Linked DNA regions of Homo sapiens: region 2 is linked to region 1. The links are contacts of gene promoters, found by promoter capture Hi-C in blood cells and fetal thymus (Javierre and others, 2016). All regions are on one chromosome and are shown on one strand. Each heading gives the region's core, a stretch centred on a gene start or on the middle of the fragment in contact. The rest is flanking DNA. Distances are from core to core; before and after follow the strand shown. Region 1 overlaps COL13A1 (collagen type XIII alpha 1 chain). Region 2 holds the start of TYSND1 (trypsin like peroxisomal matrix peptidase 1).

Region 1 (6,055 bases), core at 3,377-5,876:
GGAAGAGAGGACCCAAGTGTGCCTCACTTGCTCTGTAGTGAACTGCCATGTTGGGTTGCAGGGCGACTGTGCTGTCATAGGCAGTGCAAGGGTGGTTAGAACGTGCATAAGACACAGAGCTGGGACTGGCTTCTATGCTTCTGCAGGCTACTCCTGTCCTCAGCCTTCAAAGCTGTCCTACCCCACATATACCAGACTGGTGGCTGCACAAGACTAGGAGGCCCTCGTGGGAAGACAGGAGATGGACAGAGCTCACAGCATGAAGACAACACAGCATGACGGGCACACACAGACACTGGTGTGTTTGGTGGGGAGAGGCCATGGCTCAAACCTCCAGGGCTGGGCACCCAGGCTGGACTCAGCATTCCTGTGGAATCAGGAGCGGTGCTGCTGGAGTGGCCTCCCACCCCACACCTGGCAGGTTTGAGGTCCCTGGGTGTATTCTGTGGACAGGGGCATTCAGATGAAGGCCAGCCATATTTGGTCAAGAGGCCAGAAAAGGCACTTCAGAGCATCAGTGGCACCTTTCTGGTGTCGGAGGTGGGACCAGGCATGATTCACTGGGAAAATGAGGCCACAGTGGGACAGACAAAAGGGATCACAGGCCAGGTGTGGAGTGGAGTGGGGTGAGGGGTGATGGAGAAGTGACACTCACCGGTGGCCCAGGCCTGCCGTCCAAACCTGAAGCTCCCTGGACGAAGGGCACAGTTTGACCAAAAGAAGGGGAAGAGAGGATTGGGAGGGAGAAAAAGGGAACAATGGGGAGGGAAGAGGTGAGTAAAGCAGTGACTCTGGACAGACATAAATGCTGGTAATCAAACACAACTGGAGAAATAAGCTTGGGAGGACACGGAATGGTATTTACATGGAAACCAACGAAAACATGGAGACACTGAATGCAGTGGCTGGCTGCTGAGCAGGCTGGGTGGAGGTCGGCGCAGATGGCCACCTGCTCCTCCCGCCCCCCTTCTCCTCTCTCCCTTTATTCCCTCTCAGAAACCCCTCTCCCTTCAGTGTTATGGGGAAAGGGATACAGAAAGGAATGCTTAGAGAGATGTCTTGGAATCAGAGCTGTGCACCCTTCCCAGGACAGGTTTCACTGGGGAGGGGCCCCAGGTGAGGACGGCTCTCCCAGCCTCTTTGCATTCCTGTTTGGATCAGGCCATGCTGGGGTGCCCCTGAGGGTCTCAGCCCTGGGTGACAGCACCCAGTTGTGAAATCTGGGTAGGAGTTGTTCTGCTTATCCTTCACCCTGGGGGAATGAGTTGGCTCTTAGATGATATTACAAATGATGCCTGACATTTCGCTGGCACTTTACAGTCTGAGATGCTCAACCTAAACTCGATCCATTCATATGCTCCCAGACAAGGGCTCTTGTGTAGGCAAAGGCTTTGGAGGCAGCGGCCTGGGACAGAGGTCTAAGGCCATGTATTTCCCAGAGCAAATGGGCAGCAGGTGGGAAGCTACTGAGACCAACCTGCTATCAGCACCCTTACTTGCTCTTGTCCAGTGAAATACAAGGTTGGTGGGTCGGGGGTGGGGTGGCACTCCTGTTCCAACCCTGGGTTATGAAGCTGCCTCTGAAACCCACCCAGGAAAACCCAGGGACCCTTTTCTAATGATTCCAATGTGACAAGTCAGGGAGAAGGCAGCGGCAATACTCTGGCCTGGTAAGGACTGAGTGCTTGAAAACTGCTTCCAACTGAGCCTCAGCCTCAGAATTTCAAATGAAAAGGAAGTCCCAAGAAGGAGGCAACGAGCTGCTGCTTCATGGAAAAGGTGTTGGGTAGAAGGACTCTGCAGGGACTCTTCTCAGATTTAGGACCACACGATTCTGGGACCGACCTTGACTCACTGGGCTAGAGAGCTGTGGTTCTCAGCCCTGGCAGCACATTAGAATCTCTTGGGGGCAATGTTAAATAAAACAGATGCCTGGGTCCCACCCCATCCCAGCCCGATGCAATTCAAAATCTCCAAGAGTGAAGCCCGGGGTGATGGTGAGTTTGAAAAGCTCTCAGGGGATTCCAGTGTGCAGCCAGCATTGAGAATTGCTTCTGCAGGGCAAATGGGGGAACACTCCAGGATATGCCTGGAGAAGCAGGCTGCTACTACATAGAATAAAACATCCAGGTGAAACCTGGAAACAGAATGGTAGCTAAATATCCATGTACTTTAAAAAAATGCAGCATTAAAACTCAGTTGTCTTGAGAGGTCTGGAGCAGAAAGCACAAATTAGAGGCTTTCAGGCCATATGTGGGCCACTGACATATTTTTTATGGTCTGCAGTGTTGCAAATAATTTTGATCTAATATTAGAAAATGGAAAGATTTCACATAAAACACCAGATGTTTAACTTCCTTTGAAAAATAGGAAGATCCAGAAATACCAGCTCCGCCTTCCTCCAAGGCAACAGTCAGCTGAGCTGAGAAGGGACGGTTCCCCTTAAGAAGGGATACACGGTCTCTAGTGCACCACAGTCCCCTCCACTCCCTAGTGTCTCCCTCAGGTTTGTGTCAGTTGTCTCATATGAATGCTTGTTCTGTTGTTTACTTAAACTAAAAAAAAATACTTCTCTGTACCCATGCCTCTATCAAAAGTGAGAAAATTAATGATAGAGTAGGTACTTTGTCTTTCATCTGGCACTTTCCTTGTTTATATTAATATTACCTGTTTGGTCGCTGTGCCTTTTGCATTTCAACCCCTGACTGAATTCTCGAGTGTTCATCAAGGTCGTTGGGGCCATGAATGTGGATAAGAAGAGGTTTGTGGTTGAGTGGGGCAGGAAGGCTCTTTAATAGTAAGGAGCACTTAATCATTCCAGACACAGCTTAAGACATGGGAAAATGCCTGCTAAAGTCATCAGTTTTCTGTAGTCTGTCAAGCAGATTGGCTTCTTAAATATTCCTACCTCGAATGCATTCATGAGGGTATAATTATACCTCCTGCATTTGCTGTTTGGTTGCTGTGATTGTATTAACCAGGCCTTCAAGCTCTGCCAAGCGGGGGTAACTGGGCTTTCCATTGTTTCTCTGCTCTTTATGGCTACCTGGGGTGGGAACTGGCCTTGAGCCCAGGACAGAGGAAGCCTGAGTGGCTGGAAGGAGTCGCTTTGCAAGGCCATGGCCTCAGATCAGCCTCTGGCTTGGCCACCAACTTTGTATGTGACCTCCAGTGACCCACTTTCTTCTCTGGGACCATCAGTGAAATGATGGGATGGATCGCTAACATCCCTTCCAGCTCTTGGAAGAATGCCAACCTCAGTGGAGGGTTAGGGGGCATGGAGCCCGGGCTCCAGGGAGGGTGGTGGGATGCGCTCACCTGTACACAGGTGAGGCAGTGAAGAGGCCATCAGCCCTATCCAGCCCAGCCCCATATCATGACATGTGAACACCTTCTGAGCAGCTCCCCACCTCTGACCTGGGGCTTCTGGCTCTGGGCAGGCTGAGATCAGAGATCTCCACGAACCCAGGAGATGAACGGCCTTGGCCTGCTGGGACCACAAAGTCTGACTTTGTCTGTGCCTTTCTGCAATGACCAGTGCTTAAGAGGGGGGAGCAAGAGTTCTCTTGGGGTCCCTCTGGGAAAATGGACTGTAATGGAGACTATCTTCTTGTCCCACTACTTCCAAACCCTCCAAGCTTGGCCCCGTAAAGGCAGCAGGCTTTGATTGCTTCTGAACCAGGCTCAAGCAGGGCCTGAAGCTGCCCTCCCAGCTCAGTGCCCCTTGGGGTGGGGGAGCCTGTCTTCTTCAGCATTGCCTTTCCCCAGCACCAAGGTGGGGCCTGGGCCCAGAGGAGGAAGAGAATCAGAGCCTGTGGTCTTGCCCAGGTGGGAAAGACAAACCACATGGAACTCTGGATGCTCAGACTCTAGAACCTTAGCTTTCCGCTGGCTGTCCCCCAGTCCCAGCCCACACCCCTGGCCCATCAAACCCACCAGTCTTGCTGGGTCCAAGGTACTTACGGGTAGTCCCAGGGGACCACGGTCTCCTTTTTCTCCCTGGAAGCCTTTCTCTCCTTTTGCTCCATCTAGTCCTGCTTCCCCCTGGAGGAAAGGGAGAGGGGACGAGATCACACAAGGACATGTCCCAGACAATTCATTCTTGCATTCTGGGGTCCTGGAGGCTGGGGTGGCATTTGTAGAGGAAGGAGGGGTCAGGGTGGCAGGCTGAGGATACCAAGAATCCCTGAATTCTTAGCCTACTCTCGCCTCAGTTAGTAGCCCCTGTATCCTGTGGGAGCTTTGAGAGCCCCACAGAGAAAAGGACTAGGTGGCCTGGGGACAAACCCACAGGTCAGGCCTTGGCACAGGTGCCCAACTGCATGGCAGGAGAATGGGAACCTTACAGAGATTTGCTCAGATGCCTGAGATGCTACCTCCAGAGCCCTGAGGCTCACAGCCTAGTCGGGAGAACAAACTGCCCCGAAGTCTCTTGAATACCAGGGCATGAGGAAAGGGCCATTGTCACATCAACAGCCCCCAGCCCCCTCATCCATTTGAAATGGTTCAGGGGAGGCCGGGAGAGCCCAGTGCAGAGTCCCCCCAAGCTTGACCCAGGGAGGGGTCCCACCCTATGTTGCTGTCTCTCTCCCACCTCTACTCGGCATGAGTGAAGGGGCCAGGGCAGGTTTGATGGGAAAAGGATTTTAACCATTGGCTAAGAATCTAACCTGTCCCTTTGTGGGGTGACAGATGGGAAGCTTCTGAAGCCAAAGCACACCAGGTGTCAATGATGGATGCTAAAGGGAATCTAGGACTTCCTCCTGCCCTGACTGGACCCCCTTGGCTGGAGTGTCACCTAATGCCTTCTAGGAAAAAGGGTCAGCTGGTCTCAGGTGCACTTTCCCTCTTTTCTACTAGCACTGACACAGCGCCTGTCATGTGACTTCTCCTTACCTTTGGTCCAGGAACACCTTGGAGCCCCTGCATTTGGAATAAAGCAAGGTGCATTAGAACTGCATCTCTAGTTAACACAACTGCCTAGTCCACAAATGGATCACAGAAGAACAAGGGTTTTGGGTGCAGAGTATGGTTTGGGGTCCCTGCCCATGAGAGGTAGAAAGAAATGCTAAGTGGGGGTCATGCTTGGGGCTTCCTAGGGAATAGTCTGAGCCAGTCTTTTCCAGCCAGGGCTCACAGAAAATCTCTCTGTGGTCCTCATGGTTGACCCAGAGTCTCATGAAAGAAAGACACGGAGGTAACACAGCAAACATTAAATTAATACAGGCAAAGTGCTTGGAACAGTGTCTAGCATCCAATAAGTTTCAATAAACGCTGGCTCCTATCATTATTCCTACTGCTACTTCTACCATCCACAACAGAGGACACACAGTGCCTTGGGGACCATGAACCACACAGAGGCATGGGCCAGCATCTGTTGCTTCAGGGTGCTTGGGGGCCCTCTAGGGGTGATGCACAGGGGCCCCATGGTTACATTTCTGTAGCCAAGGAAAGCCAATCCAGTGGGGCTGGGGCTCGCCCTTCCTTCCTTCCTTTCCTTTCCTTCCTTCCTTCCTTCCTTCCTTCCTTCCTTCCTTCCTTCCTTCCTTCTTTCCTTCCTTCCTTCCTTCCTTCCTCCCTTCCCTCCTTCCCTCCCTCCCTCCCTCCCTTCCCTCACTCCCTCCCTCCCTCCCTCCTCCCTCTCTTTCTCTCTTTTTCTTTTTTTTTGAGACAGGGTCTCACTCTGGTTGCCCAGGTTGGAGTGCAGTGGTGCCATCTTGGCTCACTGCAGCCTCGATCTCTGGGGCCCAGGTGATTCTCCCACCTTAGCCTCTTGAGTAGCTGGGATTACAGATGTGTGCCACCACGCCCAGCTAATTTTTTGTATTTTTAGAAGAGACAGGGTTTCATTATGTTGCCCAGGCTGGTCTCAAACTTCCGGACTCAAGCGATCCACCTGCCTCAGCCTCCCAGAGTGCCAGATTGGTATCACGGGCGTGAGCCACTGTGCCAGACCGGTGAGTCACTTTCAAATGAGGAATGGGAGAAGCAGATGTTTGATGGCAAAGGGTGAGGTAAATGTTGGGCAGAGCTTAGAGACAAGGGACCCTGGGGC
Region 2 (6,055 bases), core at 1,897-4,396, 210 kb before region 1:
GTGGTGGCTCACGCTGTAATCCTAGCACTTTGGGAGGCTGAGGTGGGTGGATTGTCTGAGCTCAGGAGTTTGAGACCAGCCTGGGGAACAGGGTGAAACCCCATCACTACTAAAATACAAAAAAATTAGCTGGGCATTGTGGTACATGGAGTAGCTCCCAGCTACTCTGGAGGCTGAGGCGGAGAATCGCTTGAACTAGGAGGTGGAGATTGAAGTGAGCCGAGATCATGCCACTGTACTCCTGCCTGGGTGACAGAGCAAGACTCTCTCTAGCTCAAAAAAAAAAAAAAAAAAAAAATCAATTAAATGCTACATTTGGCAAAATGAGAAAGAAAGAATTTCCTTTACTAGGCTTGTAGGAAGACTGCTTTTACAAAAACCCAAATGAGATCATAAAACTAAAGTACTGGGACAAACAGTGGGAAACAGTGCAATGGGTTCTTTTCAACCAAGTATTAAAGTATTGGAGATATTGCCGGGCGCGGTGGCTCACGTCTGTAATCCTAGCGCTTTGGGAGGCCAAGGCGGGCGGGTCATGAGGTCAGGAGTTCAAGGCCAGCCTGACCAACATGGCAGAGCTCCGTCTCTACTAAAAATACAAAAATTAGCCAGGCACGGTGGGACGCACCTTTAATCCCAGCTACTCAGGAGGCTGAAGCAGGAGAATCGCTTGAATCGGGGAAGCGGAGGTTGCAGTGAGCCGAGATCGCGCCACTGCACTCCAGCCTGGGTGACTCCCATCTCAAAAAAAATAAAAAGTACTGGAGGTGTCCTGTTGTCCTTGTTACTGTGAAAGGATGCCATGGGTTGTATGGGCAAATGAGTTGTTTTGTTTGAGGCAGAGTGGAAAATAAGATTAGGCTCAGTCCATGAGCCTAGCACTCAACAGATCTTACTTTGGCGTTCTGGCTGTGACTTGGGACTTCTTTTTACCATGGTCTGCTGTAAACACAGAAAAACCCAATGCCTAACAGTTCATGCTGGAGTCTTGAGCGTTGAGGGAGAATCACTGGACTCGAGAGAGAAAGTTTGTTTGTTTGTTTGTTTGTTTGTTTTTTGAGTTGGTCTCACTCTGTCGCCCAGGCTGGAGTGCAGTGGTATGAACATAGGTCACTGCAGCCTTGACCTCCTGGGCTTAAGTGATCCTCCCATCTCAGCCTCCCAAGTAGCTTGGGACCACAGGGTTGCACCACCGTGCTCAGCTAGTTTTCAAAATTTTTGTAGAGTTAAGGTCTCATCATGTTGCCCAGGCTGGTCTCAAACTCCTGGGCTCAGGAAATTCTCCTACCTCAGCCTCCCAACGTGCTGGGATTCCAAGTGTGAGCCCCTGTGCTCCACCAAGAGAAAAACTCTTTGATTGCTAGGAAGTTGGGATAAAGAAATTGTGCTGTGATCAAGCCACCTTCTGTGTCATAGAACCAAAAGAAGACCGCCTGCTATGGCAAGATGGCCTAATTTTATTCCTGCCTCATACTATCATGGATAATCGTTTTCCTTTCTCTAGCAGGTTTGTGTCACTGGGAGTACTGGGAGCATTATCCTGTGTTGTGCTGGGGTTATACCAAGCAGTGTTAACTTTATTTAAAGAATTCAGGCAGAAAGATTAGAGAATTTAAGTAGCAATTGTATATGGTAAGCAATACAGTAACCTTAATAAAAATTAATGATGGCCGGGTACGGTGGCTCACGCCTGTAATCCCAGCACTTTGGGAGGCCGAGGCGGGCGGATCACAAGGTCAGGAGATCGAGACCATCCTGGCTAACACGGTGAAACCCCGTCTCTACTAAAAATACAAAAAATTAGCTGGGCGTGGTGGCAGGCGCCTGTAGTCCCAGCGACTGGGGAGGCTGAGGCAGGAGAATAGCGTGAACCCAGGAGGCGGAGTTTGCAGTGAGCGGAGATCGCACCATTGCACTCCAGCCTGGGCGACAGAGCGAGACTCCGTCTCAAAAAAATAAATAAATAAATAAAAAATAATGTGTATTTTATCAATTCAGTGATAAAGCAGACCTTTGTAAACTGTCTAGCTTGTGGTGACTGATTGAGGGTATCATGAAGCTCCGCGCCCCCCCACTCCCCGACATACTCGTTCATCCTCCTCTGTCCTAAAGCGTACTTCTTTGGAAAAGTAGAGCAGTTTATGTTAGTGTACACTAGAGATGGTAAACTATGCCTTGTGGGTCAAATCGGGCCTGCTGCCTGTGTTTGTATGGCCTGTGAGCAAAGAAAGGTTTTTACATATTTAAATGGTTGGAAAAAATATTTAAAGAATGCTATTTTTGGACACAAAAAATTGTATGAAATTAAAATTTCAATGTCTGTATCTTTTTATTGGGACACAGCCACCGCCATTCCTTTAGCTTTTGTATGCAACAGCTGCAGAGTTGACTATTTGAGACAAGTTGTATGGTCCCCCCAAACTGGAACTGTTTCCATTCTGGCCTTCTACAGAAAGTATTTGGACCCTGGCCTAGATAAATCCTGGCTGGTGGTTATGTTATGTGAAATGTGCACACTGTAAAATATAGGCCTGTATGATTAAAATTTTTGATTTCAGCTACTGTTCATAGTCGATTTAAAGGGCAATTTAATTTACAGCAAATCCAGTTTCTCGGAGATTTGTGTTGGGGCTTTGGCAGCAAAAAAAAATCCTAGGAGTAATCTTGAGAGTTCCATGCCCCCTAGTGGATTGCTATAGGGTTTACTTTTAAATTTTCAAAACACTGAATTGGCCAAGGATTTCCTTGGTCCATATTATCCCAAGGGTCAGAGGCTGAAGGTCGCCTAGACCTGGGCAGATGCTCACAGGTACTGTCGTGGCCTGGGCAAATCTAGGCACGTCAGCGCTCATTTCTATTCCCTTTCCCACATTCCAGCAAACGAGACTAGGCTTGAAGGGACCCACCCTCCTCTCCTCTGATTCCTCGTGACGCCGCACTCCTCTTACTCTCCCCGGGGCTCATCCGGGGGAATGGGGCAGATTATGTCCCACCGGTTGGACAAACTAACGAGGGCGGGGAAAGGAAAAAAAAAATCAGAATAGGAAGCCAATCAGAGCTCGGTACAAGCCCAGCCAATCGGGTCGGGTCAATTGGGGCTTAGCCAATCGGGCTCGATGAGGAAGACGTGAGTCAGAGCTTGCGCCTCTCGCTTCCAGCTGTGGGTGGCGCTAGGCAGCTTCAGCCGGACCGGGTAGGGGTCCTCGCTCGCTAGCTTGCTGTTTCTCGGAGAAGCTCCCGAGTGTCCGGCCTAGAGGCCATGAGAAGGCAGTGGGGGTCTGCCATGAGGGCGGCCGAGCAGGCGGGCTGCATGGTGAGCGCCTCCCGGGCCGGACAGCCCGAGGCGGGCCCGTGGAGCTGCAGCGGGGTAATCCTGAGCCGTAGCCCGGGCCTGGTGCTTTGCCACGGGGGCATCTTCGTCCCCTTCCTGCGAGCTGGCAGCGAAGTCCTGACCGCGGCCGGCGCCGTCTTCCTGCCTGGCGACAGTTGCAGGGACGACCTGCGCCTGCACGTGCAGTGGGCCCCAACGGCCGCGGGTCCCGGGGGCGGCGCGGAGCGGGGCCGCCCAGGGCTGTGCACGCCCCAGTGCGCGAGCCTCGAGCCCGGCCCACCTGCCCCGTCCCGCGGGCGTCCCCTGCAGCCCCGGCTTCCTGCTGAGCTGCTGCTGCTGCTGAGCTGCCCGGCCTTCTGGGCCCACTTCGCGCGCCTCTTCGGGGACGAGGCAGCGGAACAGTGGCGCTTCTCGAGCGCGGCGCGGGATGACGAAGTGTCGGAGGACGAGGAGGCGGATCAACTGAGAGCGCTGGGCTGGTTTGCGCTGCTGGGCGTGCGGCTAGGCCAGGAGGAGGTGGAGGAGGAGCGCGGGCCAGCCATGGCGGTGTCGCCTCTCGGGGCCGTGCCCAAGGGTGCGCCATTGCTGGTCTGCGGCTCCCCTTTCGGCGCCTTCTGCCCCGACATCTTTCTCAACACGCTGAGCTGCGGGGTGCTCAGCAACGTGGCCGGCCCACTGCTGCTTACCGACGCACGCTGCCTGCCCGGCACCGAGGGCGGCGGCGTGTTCACCGCGCGGCCCGCGGGGGCGCTGGTGGCGCTGGTGGTGGCGCCGCTCTGTTGGAAGGCCGGCGAATGGGTGGGCTTCACGCTGCTCTGCGCCGCCGCCCCCCTTTTCCGCGCCGCCCGCGACGCGCTTCACCGCCTGCCGCACAGCACCGCTGCCCTGGCCGCCCTTCTGCCGCCAGAGGTGGGCGTCCCGTGGGGTCTGCCCCTCCGAGACTCCGGGCCCCTGTGGGCAGCCGCGGCAGTGTTGGTGGAGTGCGGCACCGTATGGGGCTCCGGAGTGGCTGTGGCACCCCGCCTTGTAGTGACCTGTCGGCACGTGTCCCCTCGGGAAGCAGCCAGGGTCCTGGTGCGCTCCACCACCCCCAAGTAAGCCCGCAGGGCTGACGCCACTTCATCCCTTTCCAGGTCTCAGATCTGGGTCCAGCCCTAATACTCTTGAGTATTGTGCAGGCCTTTCTTGTGTCACGCGGATGCTTTGGGCGTGTAGTGGGTAGAGACCTGGAACCCTCCCCTCATCCTTTATACCCAGAACCCCTGTGGGGAGAATCTGGGGCAAGGTGTCAAGCTCGAAGCAGCTCTGGATTTGGGTACTGTGGGACACCCTGAATCCGGAACAGGGCATCTTTGAGCTCCCCTCAAAGGCTGAGTTTCTTCTGGGCAGCTTCACTGTCTGATAGCCCTGCACGCCATACCCCTCGGTTCTCTGGCCCTTTGAACAGAGATTCCCTAACCCTGCTGCTTCTCCTCTGAAAGTGATAAGGTCCCAGAGGCCCAGGATGGTGCTCTCCTGGGGTAAGGAGATGGGTATGTTAATTTTATCCATCTTTTAGTGCTTAGCCAGAGCTTCCCGTCTGAGTGAAACGTGAGTTTCTACGTAATCAGAAGGTAGGGGGGTGGCCCACGCAGCTGTACATGGTTCAGCCCAGCCTTGCAGCCCAGGCTTTTCCAAATCTCTTCCTGAATCCCCAAGCTTAGCCAGGTGTGGGTAACACTGCCCAGTTTTGCCATAGGTGTCCCCACTGTGGCCTATAGGACAGCCATGACTTTATAGGGAAGACTGATGATGAAGGTTTGCCTATGGTGTGTGGCCCCCACCAGATTCCTTCCACTCCCCCCACATGCCCCTTGCTCCTAAGGAGACTGCCAGGTCTGTTGGAAGCTACCCCTGCAGAGTGTGTAGTAGGACGCCCCTGTCTGATCCCGGGCAAGTCACTTAACCTGTCTAAGCTGCCTCCCCGGGAGTTGACGCTGAATGTCGTGGAACGGAGCCTGTCACGTCGTGTGCTACAGAAGTGTTAGCGTGTACGTAAATAGGGACCCAGAGGAGTGAAACCATGTCATATCTGACCCACCAACTGACGGGATTGTTGTGGGTATCAACGAGGCAGTGAAGGAAAGTGTTGTGTTTGCCTTGGCTCCTCCCACTTTGTTTGGTGTTGGGAATGTTACTGAGCGTCTCTGGGCCTCAGTTATACCACCTAAAATGGAGATAATGCCAGTGCCTAGTTTATAGGGTCGTGAAGACTAAATAAAGTGATGTCCACAAAACACTAACACCAAACCTGGCCCACAGTGCTCACTAAGTGTCAGGTTGATTATTCAGGTACAGGAAGCTTTAGAGAAGTAGCACAGTTTGTCAACCACCTTTGGAGATACCACAGAATGGTTACATGACTTGCCCAGAGTTGCCTGCTGGTCGATTCAGGGCTGATACCCAGATCTTCTGACTTTTACTGTCACTCTCAGCTCCTTGATTTCTCCCAAGTACTGAGGAGTCAGAAAGCTAGCCTGTCATTTGTTTCCCTTGCTCCCAGGAGTGTGGCCATCTGGGGCCGTGTGGTATTTGCCACTCAGGAGACATGTCCCTATGACATAGCAGTGGTGAGCCTGGAGGAGGACCTGGATGATGTCCCCATCCCTGTGCCCGCTGAGCACTTCCATGAAGGTAAAGGACGAAGGGCGCAGCCTGAAGGAGGGCCCCTCTGAGCTAGGGTGG

Evidence for each region. Contacts are between HindIII fragments. The CHiCAGO score rates a contact against its expected background, and 5 or more counts as called.
Region 2: a contact is called between the fragment with the promoter of TYSND1 here and a fragment that was not itself captured in region 1, in 1 of 17 cell types (M0 macrophages). The highest score is 5.2, in M0 macrophages.

Annotation. Positions count from the first base shown.
Region 1 is chr10:69,935,624-69,941,678 of GRCh38, reverse strand. It overlaps COL13A1 (collagen type XIII alpha 1 chain), which reads right to left. Exons shown (of 41, transcript NM_001368882.1): 33 at 4,897-4,923; 34 at 3,964-4,044; 35 at 656-691. Among named protein-coding and RNA genes, the nearest start is that of LINC02636, 71 kb to the left of the region's middle. The HindIII fragment of the contact is 153 bases long and covers 4,550-4,702 here.
Region 2 is chr10:70,143,791-70,149,845 of GRCh38, reverse strand. TYSND1 (trypsin like peroxisomal matrix peptidase 1) reads left to right here and starts at 3,146. Exons shown (of 4, transcript NM_173555.4): 1 at 3,146-4,425; 2 at 5,874-6,004. The coding sequence starts at 3,260. It overlaps SAR1A (secretion associated Ras related GTPase 1A), which reads left to right. Exons shown (of 7, transcript NM_020150.5): 7 at 1-2,557. RefSeq lists silencers at 3,375-3,684, 4,015-4,244 and an enhancer at 3,835-3,884. The HindIII fragment of the contact is 18,251 bases long and covers 1-5,031 here.